5 separate regions of the Homo sapiens genome follow, and regions 1, 2, 3 and 4 are each linked to region 5. Evidence: promoter capture Hi-C in 16 types of primary human blood cells and fetal thymus (Javierre and others, 2016). All regions are on one chromosome and are shown on one strand. The core of a region is centred on a gene start or on the middle of the fragment in contact, and the rest is flanking DNA. Distances in the headings are between cores, read along the strand shown. Region 1 overlaps TBC1D12 (TBC1 domain family member 12). Region 2 overlaps TBC1D12 (TBC1 domain family member 12). Region 3 overlaps TBC1D12 (TBC1 domain family member 12). Region 4 overlaps HELLS (helicase, lymphoid specific). Region 5 holds the start of SLC35G1 (solute carrier family 35 member G1).

What was found. Contacts are between HindIII fragments. The CHiCAGO score rates a contact against its expected background, and 5 or more counts as called.
Region 1: a contact is called between a fragment that was not itself captured here and the fragment with the promoter of SLC35G1 in region 5, in 1 of 17 cell types (megakaryocytes). The highest score is 5.0, in megakaryocytes.
Region 2: a fragment that was not itself captured here is called in contact with the fragment with the promoter of SLC35G1 in region 5 in 1 of 17 cell types (megakaryocytes); the score reaches 5.2 in megakaryocytes.
Region 3: a fragment that was not itself captured here is called in contact with the fragment with the promoter of SLC35G1 in region 5 in 1 of 17 cell types (megakaryocytes); the score reaches 5.4 in megakaryocytes.
Region 4: a fragment that was not itself captured here is called in contact with the fragment with the promoter of SLC35G1 in region 5 in 1 of 17 cell types (M1 macrophages); the score reaches 5.0 in M1 macrophages.

What each region holds. Positions count from the first base shown.
Region 1 is chr10:94,451,143-94,456,729 of GRCh38, reverse strand. The region is part of intron 2 of TBC1D12 (TBC1 domain family member 12); the gene reads right to left. Among named protein-coding and RNA genes, the nearest start is that of TBC1D12, 51 kb to the right of the region's middle. The HindIII fragment of the contact is 4,672 bases long and covers 476-5,147 here.
Region 2 is chr10:94,415,001-94,420,424 of GRCh38, reverse strand. The region is part of intron 1 of TBC1D12 (TBC1 domain family member 12); the gene reads right to left. Among named protein-coding and RNA genes, the nearest start is that of TBC1D12, 15 kb to the right of the region's middle. The HindIII fragment of the contact is 577 bases long and covers 3,049-3,625 here.
Region 3 is chr10:94,436,432-94,442,527 of GRCh38, reverse strand. TBC1D12 (TBC1 domain family member 12) reads right to left here. Exons shown (of 13, transcript NM_015188.2): 2 at 509-632. Among named protein-coding and RNA genes, the nearest start is that of TBC1D12, 37 kb to the right of the region's middle. The HindIII fragment of the contact is 3,898 bases long and covers 2,836-6,096 here.
Region 4 is chr10:94,546,110-94,551,883 of GRCh38, reverse strand. HELLS (helicase, lymphoid specific) reads right to left here. Exons shown (of 22, transcript NM_018063.5): 2 at 5,386-5,507. Among named protein-coding and RNA genes, the nearest start is that of HELLS, 3.2 kb to the right of the region's middle. RefSeq lists an enhancer at 5,167-5,774. The HindIII fragment of the contact is 2,242 bases long and covers 3,284-5,525 here.
Region 5 is chr10:93,890,370-93,895,784 of GRCh38, reverse strand. SLC35G1 (solute carrier family 35 member G1) reads right to left here and starts at 1,807. Exons shown (of 3, transcript NM_001134658.3): 1 at 1,574-1,807. The coding sequence starts at 1,751. RefSeq lists a silencer at 1,404-1,833. The HindIII fragment of the contact is 3,349 bases long and covers 71-3,419 here.

The DNA of each region.
Region 1 (5,587 bases), core at 1,562-4,061, 560 kb before region 5:
GAAAATCAGTAAGGACATAGCTTAACAACAGTACCATCAGTCAACTGGATGTAATTGACATCTGTAGACTACCGCATCCAACAACAGCAGAGGAAACATTCTTCTCAAGCTAACATGGAACATTCACCAATACAGACTACATTCTAGGTCATAAACTACACCTTAACAAGTTTAAAATAACAGAAATCATAAAATGTCTGCTCTCAGATCTCAATTAAATTAAACTAGAAATTGACAGAGATAGATAGCTGAAAAATCCCCAAATACTTGGAGATTAAACAACACACTTCTAAATAACACATGTGTCAAAGAAGAAATCTTAAGGGTAATTTTAAAATATTTTTAACTATATGAAAATGAAAATACAACTTATGAAAATTTGTGAGATGCAGCAAATACAGTATTAGAGGCAAAAGTATTGCTTTGAATGAATACATGAGAAAAGAAGAAAGATCTAAAATCAATCATCTAAGCTTCCACCTTAAGAAACAAGAAAAATTCAAGCAAATTAATTACAAAGTAAGCAGAAAAAAATAAAGAGCAGGAATCAATAAAATTGAAAACAGGAAGTCAGTAGAGAAAAATCAACAAAACCAAAAGCTAACAGTTCTTTAAAAAGATCAATAAAATTTATAATCCTCTTGCCATGATAACTAAGAGAAAACAAAAAAGACACAAATTACTAATATCAGAAATGAAAGTAGAGACATCACTACAGAGCCCAAGGACATTAAAAAGGATAATGAATAAGTATTATGAACAATTCTTTTTTTTTTTCTTTTTTGAGATGGAGTCTTAAGCTCTGTTGTCCAGGTGCCATCCTGGCTCACTGGAACCTCTGCTTCCCGAGTTCAAGCGAGTCTCCTGCCTCAGTCTCCCAAGGAGTTGGGACTACAGGCGCATGCCACCATGTCCAGCTAATTTTTTTGAAAATTAATATTTTTAGTACAGCTAATATTTTTAGTGCAGACAGGATTTCACCACGTCGGCCAGGCTGGTCTCGAACTCCCAACCTCAAGTGATCCACCTGCCTTGGCCTCCCAAAGTGCTGGGATTACAGGCCTGAGCCACCACACCTGGCTTATTACGAACAATTCTATGCCCATAATTTTGATAACCTGAATGAAATGAACCAATTCCTTGAAATATACCCAAACTAACATAAGAAGAAACTGAATCAATAATTAATAATCTTCCAAAACAGAAAGCACAGACCCAGATGGGTTCACTGATGAATTCTACCAAACATTTAAGGAAGAAATTGTATCAATTATCTATAATCTCTTCCACAAGACAGATGGAGAGGAAATACTTCCTCACTCATTATCTGAAGCCAGCATTACTCTAATACCAAAACTAGACAAAGGCATTACTAAAAAAGAAACGTACAGACCAATATCTCTTATAAACATAAATGCAAAAATTCCTCAAGAAAATATTAGCAAATCTAATCCAACAATGTATAAAAAGAATTCTATACCATGACCAAGTGGGATTTATCCTAGGTATGCACAACTGGCTCAATGTTTAAAAAAAAAAAATCAATTAATTTAATCAATTGCATCAAGAGGCTAAAGAACAAAAATCATATGATAAAACATCAATAGATGTTGGAAAAGCATTTGACAACATCCAACACCATTCATGAGAAAACCTCTCAGTAAACTAGGAATAGAGGGGAACTTCCTCAACTTGATAAAGAACATCTACAAAAAACCCATAGCTAACATCATACTTAATGGTGAGAAACTAGAAGCTGTCTCTCTAAGGTCAGGAACAAGGCGAGGATATCCCCGCTCACCACTGCTTCTCAACATTGTTCTGGAAGTCCTAGTTAATGCAATAGAAAAAGGAAATAAAAGTTACACTAATTGGGAAAGAAGAAATAAAATTGTCTTTGTTTACAGATGACATGATTGTCTATGGAGAAAGTCCAAAAAAATCAACAGAAAAACTTCTGGAACTAATAAGCAATAACAGCAAGTTTACAAGACAGAAGGCTAATGTACAAAAGTCAATCACTTTCTTACAATATAACAGCAATGAACAAGTAAAATTTAAAATGTAAAACACATTACCATAAAAATGAAATACTTAGGTATAAGTGTAACAAAACATATGCAAGATCCGTATGAGGAAAAGTACAAAACTCTAATGAAAGATAACAAAGAAGAACAAAACAAATGAAGAGATATTCCATGTTTATGATTAAGAAGACTCGCCGGGCGCAGTGGCTCACGCCTGTAATCTCAGCACTTTGGGAGGCCGAGGCGGGTGGATAACCTGAGGTCAGGAGTTCAAGACCAGCCTGACAAACATGGAGAAACCCTGTCTCTACTAAAAATAGAAAATTAGCCCGGCATGGTGGCACATGCCTATAATCCCAGCTACTCAGGAGGCTGAGGCAGGAGAATCGCTCGAACCTGGGAGGTGGAGGTTGTGGTGGCGCCACTGCACTCCAGCCTGGGCAACAAGAGCAAAACTCTGTCTCAAAAGAAAAGAAGACTCAATGTCATTTAGATGTCAGCTTTTCTCAACTTGATCTATAGATTCAACACAATCCCAATCAAAATCTCAGCAAATTATTTTGGGAATGATAAACTGAGTCTAAAGTTACATGGAGAGACAAAAGACCCAGAATAGCCAATTCAATATTGAAGAAAGACAAAGTCAGAGGGTTGACACTACTCGAATTCAAGACTTACCAGAAGGCTACAATAATCAAGACAGTGTGGCATTGGTGAAAGAACAGACAAATAGATCAATGGAACAGAACAGAGATCCCAGAAATAAGCCCACATAAATATAGTCAACTGATCTTTGACAAAGGAGCAAAGGCAATACAATGGAGCAAAGATAGGCTTTTCAACAAATGGTACTGGAACAACTGGACATCGACATGAAAAAAAAATCAATCTACATACAGACCTTACATCCATCACAAAAATTAACTCAAAATGGTTTACAGACCTAAATGTAAAGTACAAAACTATATAACTCCTAGAAGATAACACAGAAAATTTAGATGGCCTTGAGTATGGTGATGACTTTTTAGATCAACACTAAAGGCATGATCTACAAAAAAATAAAAAGTAAAATACAGTAGTCCCCCCTTATCCTTGGGAAATATGTTCTAAGATCCCCAGTGGATGCCTGATACTGAACCCTCTATGTGCTTTTTTCCTACACATATGATAATGTTTTATAAACTTTATAAATTTATAAATTAGACACAGTAAGACATTAACAATAATAAAATAGAGCAATTATAACAAAATTCTATAATAAAAGTTATATGAATGTGTTCTCTCACACACTCACATATGCACACACACAGACATACATGCACACAAAATATTTTTATTTTTTATTTTTATTTTAATATTTTCAGACTGCAGCTGACCATGGATAACCAAAACTGTGGAAAGTGAAACTGTGATAAGGGGAGACTACTATAATTGATCAGCTGGAGTTCACTGAAATTTAAAACTTCTGCTCTGTGAAAAGACAAGCCATAGAAAGAAGGTATTTGCCAAAGGCATGCCTGACAAAGGACTGTTATCCAAAATATACAAAGAAGTCTTAAAACTCAACAATAAGAAATTGAACAATCTGATTTTAACATGAGCAAAAGACCTGTATATCATCAGAGAAGATATACAGATGGCAAGTAAGCATGTGAAGAGATGTTCAACATCATATGTCATTAGGGAACTGCAAATTAAGACAATGAGACACCACCACACAGCTATGAGAATGGCCAAAATTCAAAACACTGACAGCACCAAATACTGGAGAAAATGTGGCACAAGAGGAACTCTCATTCAATGCTGCTGGAAATGCACAATGGTACAACCACTTTGGAAGATATCTTGCTACCTTCCTGCAAAACTAAACATATTCTTATGATCCAGTAATCACTTCCTTTGGTATTTACCAAAATGAACTGAAAACATAAAACCACACAAAAAATTGCACGCAGAAGTCTAGAGAAGCCTTATTAACAACAGCCAAAACTTGGAAGCAACTAAGACGTCCTTCAGTAGGTGAATGGGTAAATAAACTGTGGTGTTCCCAGACAATAGAATATTATTCAGCACTAAAAAGAAATGAGCTATCAAGCCATGGAAAGGCATGGAAGAAATATAAATGTATATTACTAAGTGAAAGAAACCAACCTGAAACAGCTAAGTACTGTCTGGTTCCAATTACATAATAGTCTGGAAAAGGCAAAACTATGGAGACAAGAAAAAGATCTGTGGTTTCCAGGGGATTGGAGGAGGGAAGAATGAATACACACAGCACAATTTTTAGTGTAGTGAAACTATGCTGTGTAATACTACAATGGTAGATACACGTCATTATACATTTGTCCAAAGCCATAAAATGTACAACACTGGGAATGAATGATACTGTAAACTATGGACTTTGAGTGACTGTGTGTCAATGTAAGTTCATTGGTTGTAAAAAATGATCCACTGTGGTGCAGGATGCTGACAGTGAAGGAGGTTGTGTGTATGTGGGGACAGGAGTTATATGGAACTCTCTGTACTTTCTCCTCAAATCTGCTATGAACCTACAACTGCCATAGTTTTTACATTTAAATACATATATTTAAATATATATGAATTTAAATACATATATTTAAATATATATGCATTTAAATACATATATTTAAATATATATATGCAGATCTAATCCAGAAATATGCAAGGTGAATAATAACTGTGACTGATCATAGTTTATTCCTGGAATGCAAAGTTGGTTTAACAACCACAAACTAACTTATACAACTTAATAATTTAAAAAAATGATCAAAAGAGTTGGCACTTGAGTTTTGCCTCACATGAATGGACCAAAAGCTACACATATAATGCCCAAGAAACATTCATCAAATCTCTGAAGGATGACATCATGTTAGCCTTCAAACTGTCTTCCATACATGATGTCTCAAATATTATATGTTTTCACATCCAGTACTCAAGCAAAGGTAACTGGGCACACAAAGAGATAAGATATCACCTGTTAGCAAAAACTAGCAGAAATAATATTTGATATAAGCAGACCTATAGGAGTTCCAGATGCTGGAATTTCCAGACATATGAAACAGCTTTACTTACTATATTCAAGGAGATAAAGGCCAAGCTTGAAATTTCAGCAGGGAACAGTAAACTGTAAAAAGTGATACAGCAGATTTGAAAAAGAACCAGCTAGGAACACAAGAATTAAAAACACACAAAATTGACATTAAGAACTCAATGTATGGAGCCAATGTATTCTTAACACATTCTCTAGGTAGTTCTAATCATCCAATGTGTTTGCAAATCAGAATAGATTATTATTTAAAAAATCTTAATAAACTTGTCCTCAAACCCACTGTTTTTTATAACCTTTTTAAGATTTTTTGTTTAATTTACATATAATAATTTTACATACTTATGGGATACATAGTGATGTTTTGATACATATAATGTATTGTGATCAGACCAGGGTAATTACCATAGCCATCATCTCAAACATGTATCATTTCTTTGTGTTGGGAATATTCAATATCCTCCTTCTTGCTATTTAAAACTGTATATTATTG
Region 2 (5,424 bases), core at 2,088-4,587, 520 kb before region 5:
CACTAATGGTAAATTTTATGTCATATGCATGTCTTAGCTCACGTTGCTATAACAAAATATCATCGACTTGGTAGCTTGAACAACAGACATTTGTATCTCAACGTTCTGGAGATGGAGAAGTCTAAGATCAAGGTCCCAGCAAATTTGGTGTCTGGTGAGGAGTCTCTTCTGTTTTCAGACAGCTACCTTTCTGCTGTGTGCTCATATAGCAGCAGGGCAGAAAAAGGGAAGCAAGCTCTCCAGGGCCTCTTCTTATAAGGGTGTTAATCCCATCATTAGAGTCCCACCCTGATGAACTCATTTAAACCTAATTACCTCAAAGATACCACCTCCAAATATCATTACTGGGGATTAGGCCTTCAGCACATGAATTTTGGAGGGACACAAACATTCGGTCCACAGCAATATATTCCACTGCGATAAAAAAATTTAACAGATTTATAAAACTGAACTTCTAGTTATCAGTTCTTAAAATATGGTTGCCAGCATTCATCAACAGATTAACTGCTTGCTTCTTTCAGTAGGAGTAAGTATCCCAAACCAAAAGCCATATCTAAACCACACATTTTGGTAAAATAAAAACTACTTAGAGGAGATTCACTTTTTTCTTTGTGGCTCTGTTTGGTATTAAATGTATTAAATAGAAAACTAAATTACACTGGTTAAGGCTTTTTAAACAAAATACAAAAATGACTGTTCCTATCAAAAGCTGTTTATTCTATATGAGCTGCTTCTAAGTTTGTCTTTTTTTTCCCTGAGACAGAGTCTTGCTCTGTCGCCCAGGCTAGAGTGCAGTGGCGCAATCTCGGCTCACTGCAACTTCTGCCTCCCGGATTCATGGAATTCTCCTGCCTCAGTCTCCCGAGAAGCTGGGATTACAGGCGCCACCACGTCCAGCTAATTTTTCTATTTTTAGTAGAGACGGGGTTTCACCATGTTGGCCAGGCTGGTCTGGAACTCCTGACCTCATGATCCACCCACCTGGGCTTCCCAAAGTGGTAAGATTACAGGCGTAAGCCACCGCACCCGGCCTTTTAAGTTTTATTGAATCTAAAATGCAGGTTAATGTTAAAAACTTCACGATGATAAACAAATGTTATTTAGTATGGAATCATACTAAATAACCTATATACTTAATATACTTTAATATACATTAAATAACCCGTATATGTAACACATTTAATAGTAAATGTACAAATCCTTAAGAATAAATAAAAGATGTATGTGTTTGCTATCAAAAAAATGGCTGGGAGGCCAGGCGCGGTGACTCACGCCTGTAATCCCAGCACTTCGGGAGGCCGAGGCCGGTGGATCACGAGGTCAGGAGATCAAGACTATTCTCGCCAACATGGTGAAACCCCATCTCTACTAAAAATACAAAAAATAGCTGGGCGTGGTGGCGTGCACCTGTAGTCCCAGCTACTCGGGAGGCTGAGGCAGGAGAATCACTTGAACCAAGGAGGTGGATGTTGCAGTGAGCCGAGATCGCGCCACTGCACTCCAGTCTGGGCAACAGAGCGAGACTCTGCCTCGAAAAAAAAAGAAAAAAAAAAGGCTGGGCACAGTGGCTCAGCCTCTAATCCCAGCACTTTGGGAGGCTGATGCGGGTGGATCACTTGAGGTCAGGCGTTCAAGACCAGCCTGACCAACATGGCGAAACCTCACCTCTACTAGAAATACCAAAAGTTAGCCTGGCACAGTGGCATGTGACTGTAATCCCAGCTACTCGGGAGGCTGAGGCAGGAGAATCACTTGAACCCGGGAGGCAGAGGTTGCAGTGAGCCGAGACTGCACCAGTGCATTCCAGTCTGGGTGACAGAGTGAGACTGTCTCAAAAATAATATAATAATAATAATAATAATAATAATAGACCAAAGTATAAAAGATTGAAGGCGAAAAACAGACATATCTAGTTCTACAGAAATTGAGAATAATCTGTTAGGCTGATAAGAAAACCTAAAGAAGGTATTTTCTTCAAAACTAGCAATAGCATTAAGGCAATAGTTATAAAACAAAATTCAGCACTTTCTTTATATTACAACATTTCAGTTACAGATGCTGTAATCTGGATTTTCTTAAAAGCTGCGCAGCTGCCACAAGTATTTTACCAAAATCTATATGTTTAGGTAGTTACTCCTTTAAACATGGACTGTTTTGCCAGCACATGGGTAACTAAAGATTGTTGGGCTTTGTGAGAATTAATAGAGCTAGATTTACTTGGAGATAACCAAATTCAAGCGTGGCAGGGCCCAAGTTTCTGGTTTTATTATCCTTCAATTTAATCTATATCTCTACACAGAGGTAAAAAAATGAACAAGAACATGGTCTCTGTCTCTGGAGGCTTTGCCATTTAGTAGAAGAGACATACATGGGCCGGGCGCGGTGGCTCACGTCTGTAATCTCCGCACTTTGGGAGACCGAGGTGGGCGGATCACGAGGTCAGGAGATCAAGACCATCCTGGCTAACACGGTGAAACCCCACCTCTACTAAAAACTCAAAAAAAAATAATTAGGCAGCCGTGGTGGCGGGCGCCTGTAGTCCAGCTACTCGGGAGGCGTGAGGCAGGAGAATGGCGTGAACCCGGGAGGTGGAGCTTGCAGTGAGCCAAGACTGCGCCACTGCACTCCAGCCTGGGCGACAGAGCGAGACTCCGTAGCAAAAAAAAAAAAAAAAGAAGAAGAGACACATATACATAGAGGTAATTATGGAAGTCTCAATTTTTTTTAATCTCTTTCAATCCTCAAAAATGGCTGATAAGTATACTGTCCCAGTCCACTTTTATAAAGCAATGTACAGAACTTTTACACTAGATGTGAAACCTTGATTTTGCAACAATTTTACACCTCCAGGGTTTTTCCTGAGGTTGTTTCCTTTCTGATCCGCAACATCAAAACATGTAGCCAAATAGCTATTCTGGCTCTTTTCCCATCCTCATTAAATTCCTTACAAAATATGGTAAGCATAATTTTTCACATGACTCTATTTTCATATCATCTCAATTCCTTCAAAAACAAAAATCCAGTTCAAAGTTTATTTTCCTTAAAGCTTCACAAAAAGGCTACTGGTATGTCTCACTCAACTTATTAACCACCCCTTCTTGCAGAGATTGAAAGATTTATCTAGTTATTTACTTTTTTTCTCTAATCCAATATTACTGGTTTAAAAAATGTTATTTACATCAACTATCTGTATATCACATTGTGAAAAGGAGACTGACAAACACCCATAAACTACCATAACTATCTCCATGCTCCAGTTTCTCAAGTTGCAAATCATCTGCCACACCGCTATGCAAGTCACCGTTCCGAAATGTAGTTCTAAGTATGTCTCCATTGTTTAAAAAACCCACAAATGTTCCCTGTACTGCCACCTCTCACTGAATCAGTTCAAATTACTTAGTTCTGTCAGACAAATTTAGCTCCCCCATAATTTAGACCCAACCTTTTTGCCTCAGTTTTTGACACATACCTCATGCACCCTAGAGGCAATCATCCAGATGAGAATCTGCAGTCCCAAAAAGTGCTGAGCTATTTTATATATAATTCTATATATATGTTATTTTTACTTGTCCTGTCATCACACTCATTCTAACCCAAACCCTCTTCTTTAGTAAAATACTAAGCTTTCATGTTTCATCTACTGTAAAGTTCCTAACTTCCTGTCTCAAAGTTAATCACCCCTTCCTCAGTACTGATGCATCCTCATATCCTCTTTTATAACACTTATCAGGTAATATTGTAAACATTGATATTATAGGACTCCCTTATCTGAAACTTTTTAAATAAAATGTTCTGTTTACCTAATATCCTATGTGCCTAGTATACATAGAGGACTCACAATAATTTGCTGAATGAATAAATAGTAAGAAAATTCCAAACTAATTAATAAGAACTAAAAAGGGTTCTGTAGCAATCTTAAATGTCTGAAGGGTAATCATGTAAATGAATTGAATTGTATTTTGTGGCTCTAGGGGGGAAATTGGGACTATGAACATTACAATGAACTACACTGTACTTCAACATAGAACCTTCTAACAACTAATACCCTCAATAGGCTCTGTTGAGAAAACCAAGCTCCAAATTAGTAAAAGAATTCAAGCAAGACTAAATAACATCTATCAGATGTCTAAACCTTCTGAGAATAAAAAGCACACACTTAGCTGTATGGTAGTTGCTGGTGCTTTGCTTTGTTGACATTTTGCTCATGTCTGACGTAGAAGTACATCCTGAACTGATGATATGCATGATAGAACCTTTCTTCCAGTAGCACAGGTGAAACCCAGATCCTGACCAAGGTAATTGTATTTTTTTTCCCTACATAGTGTTATGTTTCTATTAAATGGACAACTAAATCAAAAGTTTATGTTCCAGTGGTGTTGTGGAAGAGCAATACAATCTTATCTACTCATTAAAATAAGTGGCTAGTTATTATTTTACTCAAGAAAATTTTATAGTGGTTATCTCCTAAAATTTTCCCTTCATGCAGTATAGTTCTCAGCTGTGTTATTTGTACACCCAGTTTTGAAAGTAAATCCTTATTCTAGTATTTTTGACAGTATTACTGTGCTTCTGGGAGTATATTACAAAGATGGGCATTATCCTCCAGTTATTTGTTCAATTAGTGTGCTAGTTACCTTATATGATAATTACCTATCAAAAGTTTTATTAGTCTTTTTTTTGAGACAGTCTCGCTCTGTCGCCCAGGCTGGAGTGCCCAGGCTGGAGTGCAGTGGTGCCATCTCAGCTCACTGCAAGCTCCACCTCCTGGGTTCACACCATTCTCCTGCCTCAGCCTCCCGAGTAGCTGGGACTACAGGCACCCGCCACCATGCCCAGCTAGTTTTTTTGTATTTTTACTAGAGACGGGGTTTCACCGTGTTAGCCAGGATGGTCTCGATCTCCTGACCTCGTGATCCGCCTGCCTCGGCCTCCCAAAGTGCTGGGATTGCAGGCATGAGCCACCGGGCCTGGCTAGTTTTATTAGTCTTTAACTCAAAAATTTTGGTGACCAAAACAGAATTCTGAACCACAAGTCCTTTGTTTTCTAAATAACATTCAAGGATTACCAATCTCTATAACTCTGGGTAGTACCAATAACGTTAAAAAGTCAATGAGGGGTTGGGGGAGTTAAGGCTTATGTAAGTACAAAAAAGCAACTTAAATGTTATCACTCTTCAAAAATACAGAAACTACTTATTCAGTTGGGATGTTTTCCTTATTTAAAACTTCAATAACTTACTTTAGAACTTAAATTTCTATGTACTATATCTTCCTGGTAATGAACCATGAATTTTTTCCATGTGGGTAAGAGGGACTTTAATTCCATTTGCTAGATTTACCCTGGTACTTGTAGGAAAAATTTTCCTTTCCTTTTAGCACTGGAACTCAAATAAGAATACAGTGTGTACAACTGTATATTGCATT
Region 3 (6,096 bases), core at 3,535-6,034, 540 kb before region 5:
ACTAGAAACAGATTGTGTACCAACTCTTCTCATTTACAAAGTCCTTGGTTTAGAGAGGACACCAGAAAAGTGACAAAGGAAGGAGTTCAACCTCATAATCTACTCAGTTTTTGCTTTTTAATATTTCATCAGTTCACAACTACCAATATTCAGAACATCTGTGCCACTGACAAATGCTACCAACTTCAACTGGAAGTCAAACAGTATGTGGTGAGAGTGATTAGCTAAGTTTTTAAAAAATCTATTCAAGGAATAACTGGTTAAAAAAAAAAGTCTACGTTCTATTTGAAGAATTTTCACAATTATAAAAGATAACAGAAAATATATGACCTGTTTTTCTAGAAAATTTAGCAGGTCCCTATAAATACTTATAATCCCAAAAGTCTGTATCTAGAAAAATAAGAATAAAAATAGAATATGGTTAGTTTAAAAAAAAAAAAAAAAAGAAGAAGAAGAAGAAGAATGCTTGAAAAGCTAGGGTAAACTACATGGCTATGTCAGTACTTACCTGCTGAATGATTTTGGATGTTTTCTGAAGATTCTCTCTAGGAGGGACTTTACCAAATAATTTCCAACCAGGAGCACTATGGACAACTGATTTGAGTTCCTTTGTCCTTTTTGGAAAAAGGTTTCTGAAACACAGAAAAGTTACATGAATTGTGTTTTTTGTAACCAGAGAGCTATTTAACAGTAATTTTATAATAAGTTTGTTCCCAAGGCAAAAACAAAAATACTTTTAAATAAAACTATTTCTACTACTTATACCACTATTACTTAGAATAATAAGGCTCAATTAAGAATATGTAGCTTAATACCTAATGCATGCAGGGATTAAAACCTAGATAACAGGTTGATAGGGGCAGCAAACCACCATGGCACACGTATACCTGTGTAACAAACCTGCACATTCTGCACCTGTGTCCCAGAACTTAAAGTAAAATACAGACTATCTGGCTTATATAGAGGTATTAGAAGAATCATCAACAGAAATAATAAAAAGATAAACAAATTGGAAGGAAAATGATAGCCATAAATAAGATGCAAACATTTGTCTAAATCAGCTACAAAGTATACTAGAATTGACTGTACATGTACTTAACAATAAGAGCCAAAATTCTGAAAACAAAAACATTTAAAAGAATCTATATAACAGTTAAAGGATTAAGTAATACAATATTTGGATAAATATTATTTACAGTAATAATTTGTTATTTATAATAAAATTATATCTACTAATCCCCTATTGCTATAATATATATACATAACCTGTCTTTCCTAGGCCAGCTATGTACAAGAAAGCTTACTACAAAAGAGTCAATATATAACCAAGGAAGAAAGTATCTCTCACTGAAAAATCTAGAAAAAAAAAAACAAAACCCAGGACAGGTGCGATGGCTCACACCTGTAATCCCAGCACTTTGGGAGGTTGAGGCGGGCGGATCACGAGGTCAGCAGCTCAAGACTAGCCCGACCAACATGGTGAAACCCTGTCTCTACTAAAAATACAAAAATTAGCCAAGCGTGGTGGTGGGCACCTGTAATTCCAGCTACTCGGGAAGCTGAGGCAGGAGAATCGCTTGAACCCTAGAGGCGGAGGTTGCAGTGAGCCGAGACCGCCTCATTGCACTCCGCGTCATTGTGCACCCTGCACAAGTATTAAGGATTTTACCTATTATCTCCATGCCCTAACCAACCAAATTAAGTACCTATTTTTTTATGTAAGCAGGGATGATACTCAACATATGTACCCATCAAAACAACATGACCAGGGCCCAATGAACCAATTAGGAAGGTACTGATGAATTCAACTCAATATAAACCCTTTGCATAAGCTATAAGTGAACAGTAAGAAAATTCTTAATTCACACATATGATTAATTACAAACAGTTCCAAATTGAAGTCCCAAATAATTAGATTTATCTATACTCAAAATGCCGTATCAATATATCTTAAAAGTGCAGATTAGTGATAATAGAAAATAAGTTTTTAATGAAAAATGTTAAGGGACTCCTACAAAAGAATGCAGGCTAATCAATAATAAAGAAAAGAAATGGCCAGGCATAGTGGCTCATGCCTGTAATCCCAACACTGGGAGGCCAAAGCAAAAGGATCACTTGAGCCCAGGAGTTTGAGAACAGCCTGGGCAATGTAGTGAGACCCTGTTTCTACAAAAAATAAAAATTAAAAAAAATAGCCAGGCATGGTGGTGCACACCTTGTAGTCCCTGCTACTTGGGAGGCTAGGGTGGGACAATCACTTGGGCCCAGGAGTTAAGGATGCAGTGAGCTATGATACTGCCACTATACTGCAGCCTGGGCAACAGAGCAAGACCCTGCCTCCAAAAAAAAAAAGAAAGGAAAAGGAAATAAACACTCTTATTTCCTCAGGTGTATAACAGAAATAAACATATGACACTAGAGTAATTTCTACTTTAAGATACTCTGGAGGTTTCACCTCAGAGACCATGTACAGTGACTTAATTCTCTACTTCATAAGATCACTAAATAGGTGAACGTTTTCAATAATGAATATGCTGAGGACTAGGAATACTTCTAAGAAAAAAATTTGAAGCCTCAAAGGATGGTCTATTAATTTAAACAATGTTTGATACGTTGTGTACCACTTATCAAGAAAACACTTTGTAGCTGATTTAAACAAATGTCTACATCTTATTTATGGCTATCATTTTCCTTCCAATTTGTTTATCTTTTTATTATTTCTGTTGATGATTCTTCTAATACCTCTTAACTCCAAATTCACCTTTATGCTCTAAGATAACAGAAAAAATTCCTTTAATCATTTCTCCTTTAAAACAAACATGAAATTATTAAGCTTTCTGGGTAGAGGGCACCAAAGGGACACTGAAGGAGAAAGGGGCTCTCCTGTGGTTTCCAGCTGCTGCAGAGTGGATCGGGTAGAAGTGTGAGGACATCCAGTAAAATTCTGCTTAGCTCGATGCCCAGACTGCAGCCCCTCAGCAAACCTGCAGCCTTGCTGAACCTGCAGCCTCAACCTGGAGATGGCGTTCCTGCAGCCTGCTCAACAAAAAAATTGACTCCACCAAAGGCTTCCTGCCAGCAACAGTGTGCCAATTTCCTCTGCAAGCCCCACACAGGCCAGACAGTTCTCATCAAGTCATATTCCCTCTACAATTCCTACGTGACCTGCCTGCACCCTAAAGGTTTCCTATCTACCCACACAAATAAACACAAGAAAAAATCTTTGTCACCATGGTTTAAGAAAATAATTATTGGATATGACACAAAAACATGATCTACAAAAGAAAAAGTTGATGAACTGGGCTTAACTAAATTTAAAACATTTGAACTTCAAAAGACATCATGGATGCAAAATGACAGAATAGAAAGATCTAGGGGTCAGTCTCCCCACCAAAGTAAAAGTTGAGCTAGAAAGAGTAACTGGAGCGGGGCATGGTGGCTCACATCTGTAATCCTAGCACTTTGGGAGGCTGAGGCGGGTGGATCACCTGAGGTCAGGAGTTCGAGACCAGCCTGGGCAACATGGCGAAACCCTGTCTCCACTAAAAATACAAAAATTAGCCAGGCATGGTGGCGCAAACCTGTAATCCCAGCTACTCAGGAGGCTGAGACAGGTGAATTGCTTGAACCCAGGAGGCGGAGGTTGCAGTGAGCTGAGATCGCACCACTGTACTCCAGCCTGGGAGACAGAGCAAGACTCTGTCTCAAAAAAAGTAAGAGTTAAAAAAAAAAACTAAGAGTAACTGGAATCAAGTACTTTAGTAGAACTCTAGGAACTGACCAAACCCTTTTAACAACCAGGGGAGTGCTTGATGAAGGAAGAGGCTACCGATCTTTCATAAGTATGAATAAGCAGCATGCATAAACCAATTACCTTCCCCTATTCCTCACAACCACCACCACCACACCCACCACCTCTTGTGGCAGTGGGGATAGCAGCCCATGTTCCTGGAGTTGCTAACCGGTGCCAGGAGGGACAGTAGGGATCATGTCCTTCAAAATTTAGGGTTGTACATTTTGGTTGGTCTGGCCCTAAGGGAGTGATGCAGGCACATGCATCAGTTTCACTACTCTCCACAGCAGTGGCTTTCACTGTAAGTATTATTAGAACAATAAAAAAGGTAAAACCTTTTTGATCTCCTTTTTTGGAGCCAGATATCTAAGAAAATCTTTGTCAGGTCACCAGCTAGCCACAGAGACAACAGAACAAAAACTTGTGACCATACACAATATGGAATACATACTTTGTGAAAATAGCTTGTAAAGTCACAAACAGGTGGCTTCAGCCCTCAACAAGCAAAAAACAGCAATCACTGAGGAGTGGGAGAAACAGATTTATAGTTACCATACTATAATACTCAGAGTATCCAGTTGTCAACAACAAAAAATTACAAAACATACCAAGAAACGGGAAAGTATGGCCCATTCCCTAGAAAAAGGAATTTGACAAAAATCTTCCCTGAGGAAGCCCAAAGTAATTACTAGTCAAAGACATTAAGTCAATTTCATAAAAAAAAAAAAAAAAAAAAAAAAAAAGCTCCAGGAGATTGAAAAAGAAAAAAACCCATGGACAAAGAACGAAAGGTAATAAAGGAGGATAAAGGGGGAAAATGTATGAACAAAATGAGAATACCAGTAAAGGCAGAAATTATAATAAGCAACACAACAAATTCTGGAGCTGAAAAACAACTAAAATAAAAAATTCACCAGATGTACTCAACAGCAAATTTGAGCAGGCAGAAGAAAGAGCTGGCAAATATGATGATAAGAAAATTGAAACTGTCCACTCTCAGTAGTAGAAAGAAAAAAGAATGAAGAAAAAGGAACAGAGCCTGAGGGGCCTGTGAGACATTACTAAGTGTACCAACTACGTACCATAAAAGACCAAGGAGAAGGGAAAGACAAAGAGGCAGAAAAAATACGTGAAGAAATAACTCACTTTGGGAGGCCAAGGCAAGTGGATCACAAAGTCAGGAAATCGAGACCTTCCTGGCTAACATGGTGAAACCCCATCTCTACTAAAAATACAAAAAATTAGCCAGGCATGGTGGCGGGCGCCTGTAGTCTCAGCTACTCCGGAGGGCTGAGGCAGAAGAATGGTGTGAACCCAGGAGGCGGAGCTCGCAGTGAGCCAAGATTGTACCACTGCACTCCAGCCTGGGTGACACAGCGAGACTCTGTCTCAAAAAAAAAAAGAAAATAACCAAAAACTTCCCAAATCTGAGGAAAGACATAATCTACACATCCAAGAAACTCAACAACTTTAAGCAGAATAAACTCAAGGAGGTTCACACTGAGATACATTATAGTCAAACTGCTGAAACTCAAAGACAATTTTGAAAACAATAAGTGAGAGGTACCATCAAAACCAGAGATCCTCAATAAGATTAACAGCTTATTTCTCTTCAGAAACCATGGAGGCCAGAAGTAAGATTACATATTTAAAGGTCAGAAAGGAAAAAAAAAAATTGTCCACCAAAAATTCCATATCCAACAAAACTATCCTTCAAGAATGAAGGAGAGGCCGGGCATGATGGCTCATGCCTGTAATCCCAGCACTTTGGGAGGCCAAGGCAGGTAGATCACGAGGTCAAGAGATAGAGACCATCCTGGCCAACATGGTGAAATCCCGTCTCTACTAAAAATACAAAAATTAGCTGTGCGTGGTGGTGCGCGCCTGTAGTCCCAGCTACTCGGGAGGCTAAAAAGCATTAAAGCATTAAAAAAAAAAAAGATTTTTTTCTTTTTTTAAAAAAAGCAATTTTGACTTTGTATCATCAATGACAGCTGGAAATTTTTTAAAATCTAAAGAGATATAATAGCAAGAAAATACAAGGTATGTGAGAAGAAATCTAGCCAAAGTTTTATAAAAATTTATAGAGAGAATGAAATGATACATTATTGAACCACATTAAAGAAAACCTCATTAAATAGAAAGATAGTTCACATTTATAGAAAGGAAAACACTATCATAAAAATATCAATTCTCCCCAAACTTATCTATCAATTTCATCCAATTCCCATCAGAAACCCAACAAGATTTTTTAGGAACTTGAAGGAAACTCAAAAATTTATGTTAAAGAATAAAGGACCTGG
Region 4 (5,774 bases), core at 3,155-5,654, 650 kb before region 5:
CCTGTAGTCCCAGCTACTTGGGAGGCTGAGGCAGGAGAATGGCGTGAACCCGGAAGGCAGAGCTTGCAGTGAGCCGAGATCGCGCCACTGCACTTCAGCCTGGGCAACAGAGCGAGACTCCATCTCAAAAAAAAAAAAGAAAAGAAATGGGGGTATGAATTCATTTTTATACTCTAAATAATGCCCTAGCACTTGGGTAGTTTTGCTGCTCCAGCTTATCAATATCTCTAAGATATCATTTTATATTGCCTTACATTTTCCTAGCTATTACATCATCACTATAGCTTTCTTTCAAAATATATTTCTTTTTCTTTTTTGAGATGGAGTCTCACTCTGTTGCCCAGGCTGGAGTGCAGTGGCACAATCCTGGCTCACCTCTGCCTCCGCCTCCCGGGTTCAAGCAATTACCTGCCTCAGCCTCCCCAGTATAGCTGGGACTAGAGGCACCTGCCACCACACCCCGCTAATTTTTGTATTTTTAGTAGAGACGGGCTTTCACCATCTTGGCCAGGCTGCTCTTGAACTGACCTCGTGGTCCACCTGCCTCAGCCTCCCAAAGTGCTGGGATTATAGGTGTGAGCCACCGTACCCGGCATCAAAATATATTTCTATTATAAAATCAGTGACTACAGTAAGATTCTAAGAATGGACCTAACAAAAGTAATGCATACTCATTACAGAAAAACTAAATGTCAAAAAATATATAAATCACCCATAATCCCACCTACACAGATAATTCTTAATATCTTGAACTCAATTTTCAGTTCTTTTAGGACAGAATTTCTTTTACTATTACCAGTATACTACTGTGGTTACAATACGCAACTACTGAGGTGAATATGAAAACAGGGAGATGAAAATTACTTACACAATATATGGATTCTTAAATTTTTAACTTTTAAAATTTAAGTTCAGTTAAAATAACGTGGGTTTAACTTAGATATAGTTGATACCTTAAATCCTGTACAGAATTAGCACTTTTTCTTTTTTCTGAGACAGGGTCTCGCTCTATCACCCAGGCTGGAGTGCAGTGGTGAGATCTCGGCTCAATGCAACCTGCGCCTCCCAGGCTCAAGCGATAATCCTCCTGCCTCACCCTCTTGAGTAGCTAGGACTATAGGCGCGTGCCACCATGCCGGCTAGTTTTTTAATTTTTTGTAGAGATGGGGTTTCACCCTGTTACCCAGGCTGGTCTTAACCCCTGGGCTCAAGCGATCTGCCCCGCCTCAGCCTCCCAAAGTGCTGGGATTACAGGCATGAGCCACCGCGCCTGGCCAGCACATATTTTTAAAACAACTAAATACAGCCAGGCATGGTGGCTCACGCCTGTAATCCTGGCACTTTGGGAGGTCGAGGAAGGCAGATCACGATGTCAGGAGTTTGAGACCAGGCCGGCCAATATGTTGAAACCCCGTCTTTACTAAAAATACAAAAAAAATTAGCTGGGCGTGGTGGCACGCGCCTGTAGTCCTAGCTACTTGGGAGGCTGAGGCAGAAGAATCGCTTAAACCCGGCAGGTGAAGGTCGCAGTGAGCCAAGATCACGCCACTGCACTCCAGCCTGGGTGACAGAGGGAGACTCCGTCTCAAAACAAACAAACAAGCAAAAAAAACCTAAATACTTGCCTGGTGCTCCTGGAAAAATTTTTCCTAAAAAAAAAAATCAGCTGGGCATGGTGGCTAATGCCTGTAATCCCAGCACTTTAGGAGGTCAAGACGGGCGGATCACCTGAGGTTGGGAGTTCGAGACCAGCCTGACCAACATGGAGAAACCCCATCTCTACTAAAAATACAAAATTAGCCAGGCTTGGCGGCACATGCCTGTAATCCCAACTACTCAGGAGGCTGAGGCAGGAGAATTGCTTGAACCCCGGAGGCAGAGGTTGCAGTGAGCCGAGACTGCGCCATTGCACTCTAGCCTGGGCAACAAGAGTGAAACTCTGTCTCAAAAAAATAAAAATAAAAATAAAAATCACTAAAGCTTTAAGATGCCATCATGGAAAAAAATAATATACAATTAATATTAAAATAATACCATGTAAGTGGTTAATCCTTAAACCTGGTCTTCTGTATTTCAAATCTTCCTATCACTGTTTTTTCTTTATTTATCAATTTCATGATTATATTACGGTAAATTGCAACTCCATCTATTAAAAGCACTGAGTGCCTGGCAGGAAACAACTCTGGGTAACTACAGTACAGAGTATGCCAATGGACACCGAGGGCAGAAATTCCTCATTATCTACCCCATTATCTCTCCCAACACCAATCCCAGATTTTTTATTGGGGGGTGGGAGGAGTTCTATTTTAGCCTACACATATCATGATCCTTTTACCTCTCCAAGAAATCTCCTGACTCCAACTATTCCCCCTCCTCCACTTCACAGGCACTATCAGTACTCAAATCTCCTAGACTAACAATGACTTCTTTTAAAGGGAAATACATGTGAAAAGTCAAAGAAAATAACTGTAGCCAATGAATGTCAAAGTCATTTTCTAGGTTCCTCACAAACCTTAGGATTTCCTAAAGCCAAATGCTTCTCATTAAGGAACTTAAGCTAGCTCTTCCTCTGTTAAGTACTTCTAAATACATGCCCATACAGACTGTATTCTCCCAAAAGAAAAGGAATCTCTACCTGTGCATAGTTAATTGTTTGGCCTCCAAAGACATGTTTATTAATCTCAAGTAGGTAGAGACTCTGAAAACTTTTCTTAGAATTTTCTAGTGTCATCTAGGCAATCACTTTTTATGAGGGTCCAGTGCAAAAAATAATCAAAAACTTTCCTTATCTGTACATAACAAGACAATGTAATACGAAACCACAACACTAATGTTTTAGCAAATTACACACTTATATTAAGATTGAAAACGGCTACATACTTTTTTTTTTGAGACGGAATCTTGCTCTGTCACCCAGGCTGGAGTGCAGTGATGCCATCTCGGCTCACTGCAACCTCTGCCTCCTGGGTTCAAGCAATTCTCCTGCCTCAGCCTCCTGAGTAGTTGGGACTGCAGGTATGCGCCACCACATCTGGCTAATTTTTATATTTTTAGTAGAGACGGGGTTTCACCATGTTGGCCAAACTGGTCTCGAACTCCTGACCTCAGGTGATCCACCCGCCTCGGCCTCCCAAAGTGCTGGGATTACAAGCGTGAGCCACCATGCCAGGCCATGAAAACAGCCATATACTTTTTTAATGGAAGGATTAAAAATTACTCTTTAGGTTCTATGATGCATAATTATTAAATTTAGGACTAACTGCAAAATGTTTGTTCATAAGCTTAAAAATGTCATTAAAAGTAGCAGGTCATTTGACCTCAGCAAATATATAAAATACTACATATTTGACTTATCTTTTTTAAATGTGAAGTGTTTCTTCCTTGAATGAATAATACCTTCTGAAAATGTACTGTTGTCATATCTCAGGCATATCTTTCTTTAAATGCTATTTCCCTACCCAACACTCATAATGGGTATATGAAGAAACAAGATAAAACTGAAGATACATTACTCAAGACAAAATTATCACATCCCTCTTAGACTTCTTCAGTTGATTCCATTCTGGGCACTTGCCCCAGAATTTATACTTTATAATTCATCTGGTTATATAGCTAATAAGTATATTTAGTATATGTATATAATCTTGTATATTATAAAATACCATTTTATCATCGTTAGCTATTCAATAAGCACTTACTGATTGCCTACTATGTGCCAGGTGCAAAGCCTACAAAAACAAAACAGCAAGTGATGCACCCTCAAGAAACAAAGTGAGAAAGAATCAAAAAGTAGTATGAAGTATTTATCATTACTTATTTGGTCATGGTAAATTCTGTGTAATAAAGTACTATGAAAATTCAAAGAATGAGAAAAGGTGGTTCAGGTCAGACCTCTCAATTCTGTTAATTCACATCTACCCTGAAGCAAAAAGTATTGATGTTACTTAAAGAAAATTTGTTAATATATTACCTTAACTGGTTATAGTCAACCAGAGATCATCAGTAATAACGGAAGGAGTATTACTGGAGTGGAACTATAGCATGGTAGTTAAAAAATGTGCATTCTAGAACCACATGGCCTACACTGGAATGTTAGCTCTGCCATTTACCAACTGTGGCACCCAAACAACCTCTATGTGCCTCAGTTTCCTCATCTGTAAAATAAGATGACTAATAAAACCTATTTGGTTGTGTAGTTCAATAATAGCAATTGTTTATACTAGTAATTAAACTAGTAAGTTTAATAGCAGTAATAGTAATAATGAACATCTACTTTACAGAATAGTTGAGGATTCAATGAGTAAATACATATAAAGCATTCAAAACAATGCATGACTCCTAATAAATGTTCAAGAAGTATTAACAATGCTGACAAAAAAATTATTGTTGACATAACAGGGAACCAACGGCCTCATTACTCGTTTTTGGAATGCATTATTTTCCAACTTAAGTAGTTTTATAATCATGAGTTAATTCACTATTATTAAGGACAGAAATTCTGCAGGCAGCCTGAGTTGAAATTTGACTTCAACACTTACTATGTGCCCTTCTCCCTCAGTTTCTTCATTTGTAAATGAAAATAACAAAAAATAACCTATATCATAATATCGGTAGAGTTTAATAAATTAATAAAGCACAAGAAAACCACGTACTAGGCAGTACTTAAGAGTCAACGATCATTCTTTTTCTTGCATATGAATCAAGCAGCAGGGTGGGGCTTTAGAATAAACAAGAATTTTTCAGGTTAAAAACTGTTTTTAGTAACTTACAAAATGCTCTCTACAAGAAAACTACAGCAACTTGTCATTGAAAAAGTACGGCACATTTTTAGCTAAAGAATCTTATGTAGCAATACACAGGCCATGAAACCAAAAGAAAAACAAACAGCAAGTTGATCACTTAGGTGGAAAACAGCACTACAGTATAAGGAAATCATTAGACTTGGATTCCAGCCCAGCCTTTGATTGATGCTAACTTCTCCTGCCCTCAGTCTAGTACATTACTTCTGCAGGTTTTAGCGATTCCTGTTTGCCATGAGACATACATTTAAGGTAATTTTTAAAGGAAATAAGGATGACAAACGAAAAAACTCACTATGGACTTTGAAAGACTTTTCATGGCTAAACAAGCAATCTGAAATGCTCATTTAAAAGTGATGGGACTACCAAGACTACATCTCATAGAAACACACCATTCAAAGCACTTGCGAAAGGATTCTCAAAGGCAATATCTGTAAACATACAAAAAAGACAAGTAATAAAGCTGTTTTCTTTCAGTTATTAAAAAGCCCACTAAATAGGAAAGCAAAGAACACAAACCACACCTCCGGGTTAAAGCCGAGGTTACCACAGGCTTTCACGACGACGAACCTGATGCCTAAATTACCTTTTCCAGCATCTTCCGCTCTCTCTCTAGTCCAGCAGCTTCAAGCTGTTCTTCCTCTTCTAGCATGGCCGGGGTAATCACAGCAGTGTCCAGTTGTTCAACCATTGCTGGAGCCTCCGAGCCTGACGGGGGAGAAAGCTTTCAAATTGCAGTTTTAAAAAAATTACCAACTACTCAACTCCAACAAGAAACAGCCTTTCTCCCACCCGAGATGCACTGGAGCAAAAGCTGAAGACCGAGGGGACGCCAGCATCACCTCTCAGAAGACACCGTAAGTCTTCACAATGTCTACAAGTCGCCTGGACCACAGTTTACAACTCGGGATGCTCGGGAAAATGCAGTTGCCTATGTGAAATCTTCACCGGCATGCTAATACGTGCGATTCCGGG
Region 5 (5,415 bases), core at 558-3,057:
GTGTCTGTTAAGGTCATCCAAGAATGTAAGACATATGGGTAACAGTTCCAACCAGAACTTGAAAAAAGCTTTGTTGAGATAAGCAGTTAGAACAAGAGGTGTCACAAAGTTCAATGACAACAGTAAAGTGTTTTTATGTCAATTTTCTTTCCAAAATATTATCTTGTCACCTTACAATAACTAAGTCTTACTGGTAGAAACTTTCTTTGAAGTTAAACACCCACAAGATTCTTAGATACACTCACGTAAGTTTCTCATCTTGCCATGAGCTGCCTGGGAGTAGAGAATTCCTCTTCCATTCACAAAAAGGGGAAACTTTAAGAGTTTGCATGGACTGATTCGGCATGCCACCAGAAGGACATTCACCCAGAGGGTGATAGGTGAGAAACTGACCTTTTCAAAGGCTGCTTATCTGTTCAATTCAGCCTGGCATAACCCCTGTTCTAGAGGCACCAGCCCATTTATAAATGATCACAAGTCTGATCATTTCGGTTTGCCTTTAGGACAGAAATGGAGCAAGAATAGTCTTCCTAGAGTCTGTCTCTCTAACTTGGGGAAAGTGCACAAAGGGAGGAGGGGAAAGCGCAGTGAGAGGAGAGGAACAGAAATCCAGGGTCACACTTAGGGGAGGTGACCCAGAGGACAAGGTGGTGCAGGCCGTGTAACTGTCCTAAAAAGAGATCTGCCTATTCCCTTCTTCTTGCAGGAAGCTGCTCCTGGTAGATGGTCGACTTCTAAGAGGAATGTGCTTGAAGCAGCACTTGTGGCCAGTGGAAAGGGCCCTAGGCCGGTATATGGCAAGCTGGGATCCTAACCCTGGTGCTCCCTGGACATGCGCCCCATCTCACCCCCACGTTCCACATCTTGGAGGAGACAAAGCAAACGAAAACCCAAAAGCCCTCACCTTCCTGGGCCTCACTTTGCTCATGTGTCGAAGGAGGGGGACTGAACATAAAGTGTTCTTCACGAGGGGTCCCTGACTTTGGGGACGGGGCTGTGAGCTTCTTAACAAGATATGCCTTGTTCTGCATCGTTTGCTAAAAAGTCCTTGTATCCCTAAAGGTTAAAAACTAGCGGTCCCACTTATCTCTGCCTTTCCAAGATTCTAAAACTCTAGGACGAACATTTTTTCTAGACTCGATGCTTTTCAGCTTCCTTTTCGGAGAGAACCCTTAACCACCGGGATCACTTTTCAGGGTCAGCTTCCTCGCAACGTCGCCCCACTGCAGGATGGCCTCTCTCGCTGACCCCCCACCTACGACCTAGGGGAGGGTACGCCAAACTGCAGTCTGACTCCACAGCCCTGCCCCGACACTAATTACAGGAGCAGCCTCGGAATCCCAAAAGGACTGCTAACAATCGGAAAGTTTCTTCCGTCTTAGCGCCGGCTGGGGCGCCGGGAATTCCGCTTTGCAGCCCCCCAGCTGACAGCTCGAGGGGTTTCCCGAGCCCCGGGCAGGGTGGGGACGGAGGCGCGGCGGGCACTGTGCCCGGGTTGCGGGGACCCCAACCCGCCGGCGCCCGCTCGGGACCCCCGAGCGAGACCAGAGCCCGATCCACACCGCGCACTCACCCGGCTCGGTGCGGGAGCAACACGGCGAGGAAAGGCAGAGCCAGCACCTACCGCGGTCTGGCGCCCCAGCTGCCTCGGCGGCCGCCGGCTCCTCAGTGGCGCCCGGGGGTGCATCGTCCGTTAGCGGCAGCCCGGGCTCCTGGAGCTCCGCGACCCCGGTGCTGTCCTGAGGCCGCATCTCGCGGCACGCGCTCTACCAGCGGCCGGTGCCGTCTGGCGCCAGCAGCAGCGCCTGGGCTGCCGCTCTTCCGGCGGGCGATGGCGCCCATGCGCATGCGCGCCCGGCCCACCCGCACCCTCCCCCAAGGAGACCGCGCGCGTCCTCCGCTGGCCTCTTAACCTGGGGAGACCCGCTGCCTCCCTGGTCGGGCTGTGGTGCCCACAGCTGGCTCTAAGGCGTCCAACCCTCTGCTGCGTTCAGGCTACATGGCCCAGCTGCTTGGAGCCATCCTTGGCAAGTCACACTGAACCTGTCTGTCATGGCACAGACAAGGAGGGGCGCTGGGTTCCCAAGCCCTGGCGCCCGGGGGTCCTGTGGCCTCCTTTTCAGGAGGCTCAAAGAGTGGGCGTTTTTTCATTGATGTAACCACGCATTCAGCACCTCTGTGATACCCCGAAGATTTTACAAAGCACCATGCTTGTCTTTAAATGGTCTAGGGTTTTTATGTTTTGTTTTGTTTTGTTTTGTTTTGTTTTGTTTCCCGTGTTGTCCCTTTGCTGCTTACCAAGGAGGGTAGAATTTTGCTGTTTTGGGAAATATTTTTAAGAAAGAATTAGTGTGTAATTATAGGAAAATATATCTATAAGACTGACCAGAACCCATTTATATGTTCTTTGCATTCTTTGCAAGAGTAGGCATGCATTATTGATCTTTGGTTTTCTTTTCTTAAATGGAAATATCCTAATTTGGCCAGATGTAAGATTCAAGTAATCTGATGTAATTAGACCTGGTAAAATATATTCTTTGGCCCAGGATTCACTAACAGCCTCTTTTTGTTTAGCTAATAATTCTTCTTCCATCTCTTTGCTTGCTTTATATGTGGAAGAACAGTCTCTGTGCAAGGATGAACGTATCTAAACTTCTAAGTCCAGTGCCAAGCAGATCACCAAAGGAGAGTGAAGTTTGCCTTTACTCAGACATTTGCACATAGTGATCCACAGCTGAAACAGTTTTAGACTTGAAGTCAGGAATCCTAGGTTCTGGCCCTGAGTGTGTGACCTCAGTCACCACTGTACCCCTCGAAGCCTTGATTACCTCCTTTATTTAATAGCGATCAAGTATTTCCCTTCCTGCTTCGCAGAGTAGTTATGTAAATAAAATGCAATGATGTGGGCAAAAGCATAATATCACCTGGAAAACACTATGTTAGAAAATCAAAGTGTGTTTTAAACTAGGGTCAGCATATAATTTATCCTCCAAACTGGACCTTTTTTTTTTTAAGAGTAAAAGGAGGAGCTCTTTTAAAAGTTACACAAGGGAATAGGCATAAACTGGGACTGTCCTAGGCAAACTGAGACAAATGGTCACCTGAATTCTAACTTGATTAACACATACTTTTGCCTTGTCTTAAAAGAGAATTTAAGGCTGGGCACGGTGGCTCAGCCTACCATCCTAGCACTTCGGGAGGCTGAGGTGGGAGGATTGCTTGAGCTTAGGAGTTTGAGACCAGCCTGGGCAACATAGACCTTGTCTCTATAAAAAAAATAATAATACTTTTAAAAGAATTTAAGGCTACTTACAAAAATATCTGTAACAGGTTTTGTTGTCGTTGTTTTAGATAGGGAAATTTCAGGGAAGGATGGTAAGGGTGGTAGATCATGATTATAAAGCAAGAACCAGGAAGCTTCCTCAAATATCTGGGAAGTCAAGTGCAGTTTCACAATTGCATTCTAAGATTTCGATATGGAAAGGGTTTGAAGAGTCCCCTCCTCTTAAATGGTGAAGATTATGGCTAGGAAGTGTGGTAAAGAAGAAAGAAGTGTGATGATTTGAGAAGGAAGTACCCTGACTGCTCCACTTTCAACACTTTCAACACCATCCTCGAAAAGGGAGAAGAAGAAGAGAAGAAAATGGGTACTACACCAGTTATTAAAGGTGGTGAGATGATTTCATACCTGCTGTTTATTCCCTTTAACTTCCTTCCCCTCCACTGCTGACCTTCATATATAAATGGTATCAGTTATATTCATTCTCCCATTTAGCTGACAGCCATGCTGACATAAAAGGCAACCAATGAGAAAAGTGCGGACCAAGCTGGCCTGTAATCCCAGCACTTTGGGAGGCCGAGGAGGGCAGATCACTTGAGGTCAGGAGTTCGAGACCAGCCTGGCCAACATGGTGAGACCCCGTCTCTACTAAAAATACAAAAATTAGCCAGGTGTAATGGCGGGTGCCTATAATCCCAGCTGCTCAGGAGGCTGAGGCAGGAGAATCACTTGAACCCAGGAGGCGGAGGTTGCGGTGAGCCGAGATCACGCTGCTGCACTATATCCTGGGCAACATGAGCGAGACTGTCTCAAAAAAAAAAAAAAAAAAAAAAAAAAAGTGCGGACCAGACTAGAAGTCAGAAGACATGGCTGTCCTGAAGCTCCACCCAGTAGAGGTGTGGGGCTGTTAAGGTCTCTCCTGAACATTGTTATTTCAGGTCTTTGGTGATGATAGTGATATTGAGCTGGTGACAGATAGATCTCCATAATGTGCAGGATGGGCCAGAAATCCCGACTGTAGAGGAGACTAGTTCAGAGCCTATTGAAGTGACCCAGATGAGATTCTGACCCCAGGTAGAGAAGGCAAGGAGGAAAGATGGATTTTGAGGTGGCTAGGAGATGGAATGTGCAGAACTCGTTGACTAGATGTGAAAGAGCATTGTTTCTGTATGCAAAATTGTGCTGTGTTCCAGCACACACTCTTCTGCTTCTGAAGTGATTCAATCTTCCAGTGAGAACAGGAGCTCTCACTGTGATGCCAGGTAGCCACAGCAAGGATGGCACTCCCATAGTTCTGGTGTCAAGAAGGAAGATGAAAATGGAGAAGAGGTGGGTTTTAACCTGTCCCTGCTAACCACTGAAAGTCCAAGATCCTCACCATCCATGTGGCAGCAGGTGGAGACTTCCAGGAGGAGTCAGATTCCTGGTTTCCACTGGTCTTTGCATGTCAGGGATGTTCCTAAGTGAGACGTTTGTATGTCAGAAACTGTCTTTCATAACAAACTGGTACCTTGGTACTGATTTGAAGGACTGCTTTTTTTTTTCCAAAAAATTCATGGATTCTTACCTTTTAAACTAATGCAACTTATGACTTGGGAAATGGCAGTTTGTTCCAAACAGCCCTAATGTTTTGTTTTGGGAAAAATCAGTACTGTGGAACATAAGATCATATTTCTAAATAATCTTTGTAAATGAAAGAAGGGACCAGCAAAAGAGAGGTCATTTAGGATAAATGTAGGATAGAACACTGGAGAGGCAAAATAAACTGTTCAAATAAGTAGGAGCTGACTCTGATAATATAACAGAAAAAAATGCCAGGAATGGCTCCTCAAAAAATTAGACATAGTTACTATATGATCCTCCAATTCTACTTCTGGATATATATTCCCAGATGAAGTGAAAGCAGGAAATTGAACAGATATTTGTACATTCATTTTCATATTAGTATTATTCACAACTGCCAAAAGCTGGAAACAACTCAAATGTCTGTCAATGAATGAACAGATAAGCAAAGTGTGGTATAAAGCATACAGTGGAATGTTATTCAGTCTTAAGAAATGAAATTCTGACATGCTACAACATGGATGAACCTTGAAGACATTATGCTAAGTAAATAAACTGAACATAAAAGGACA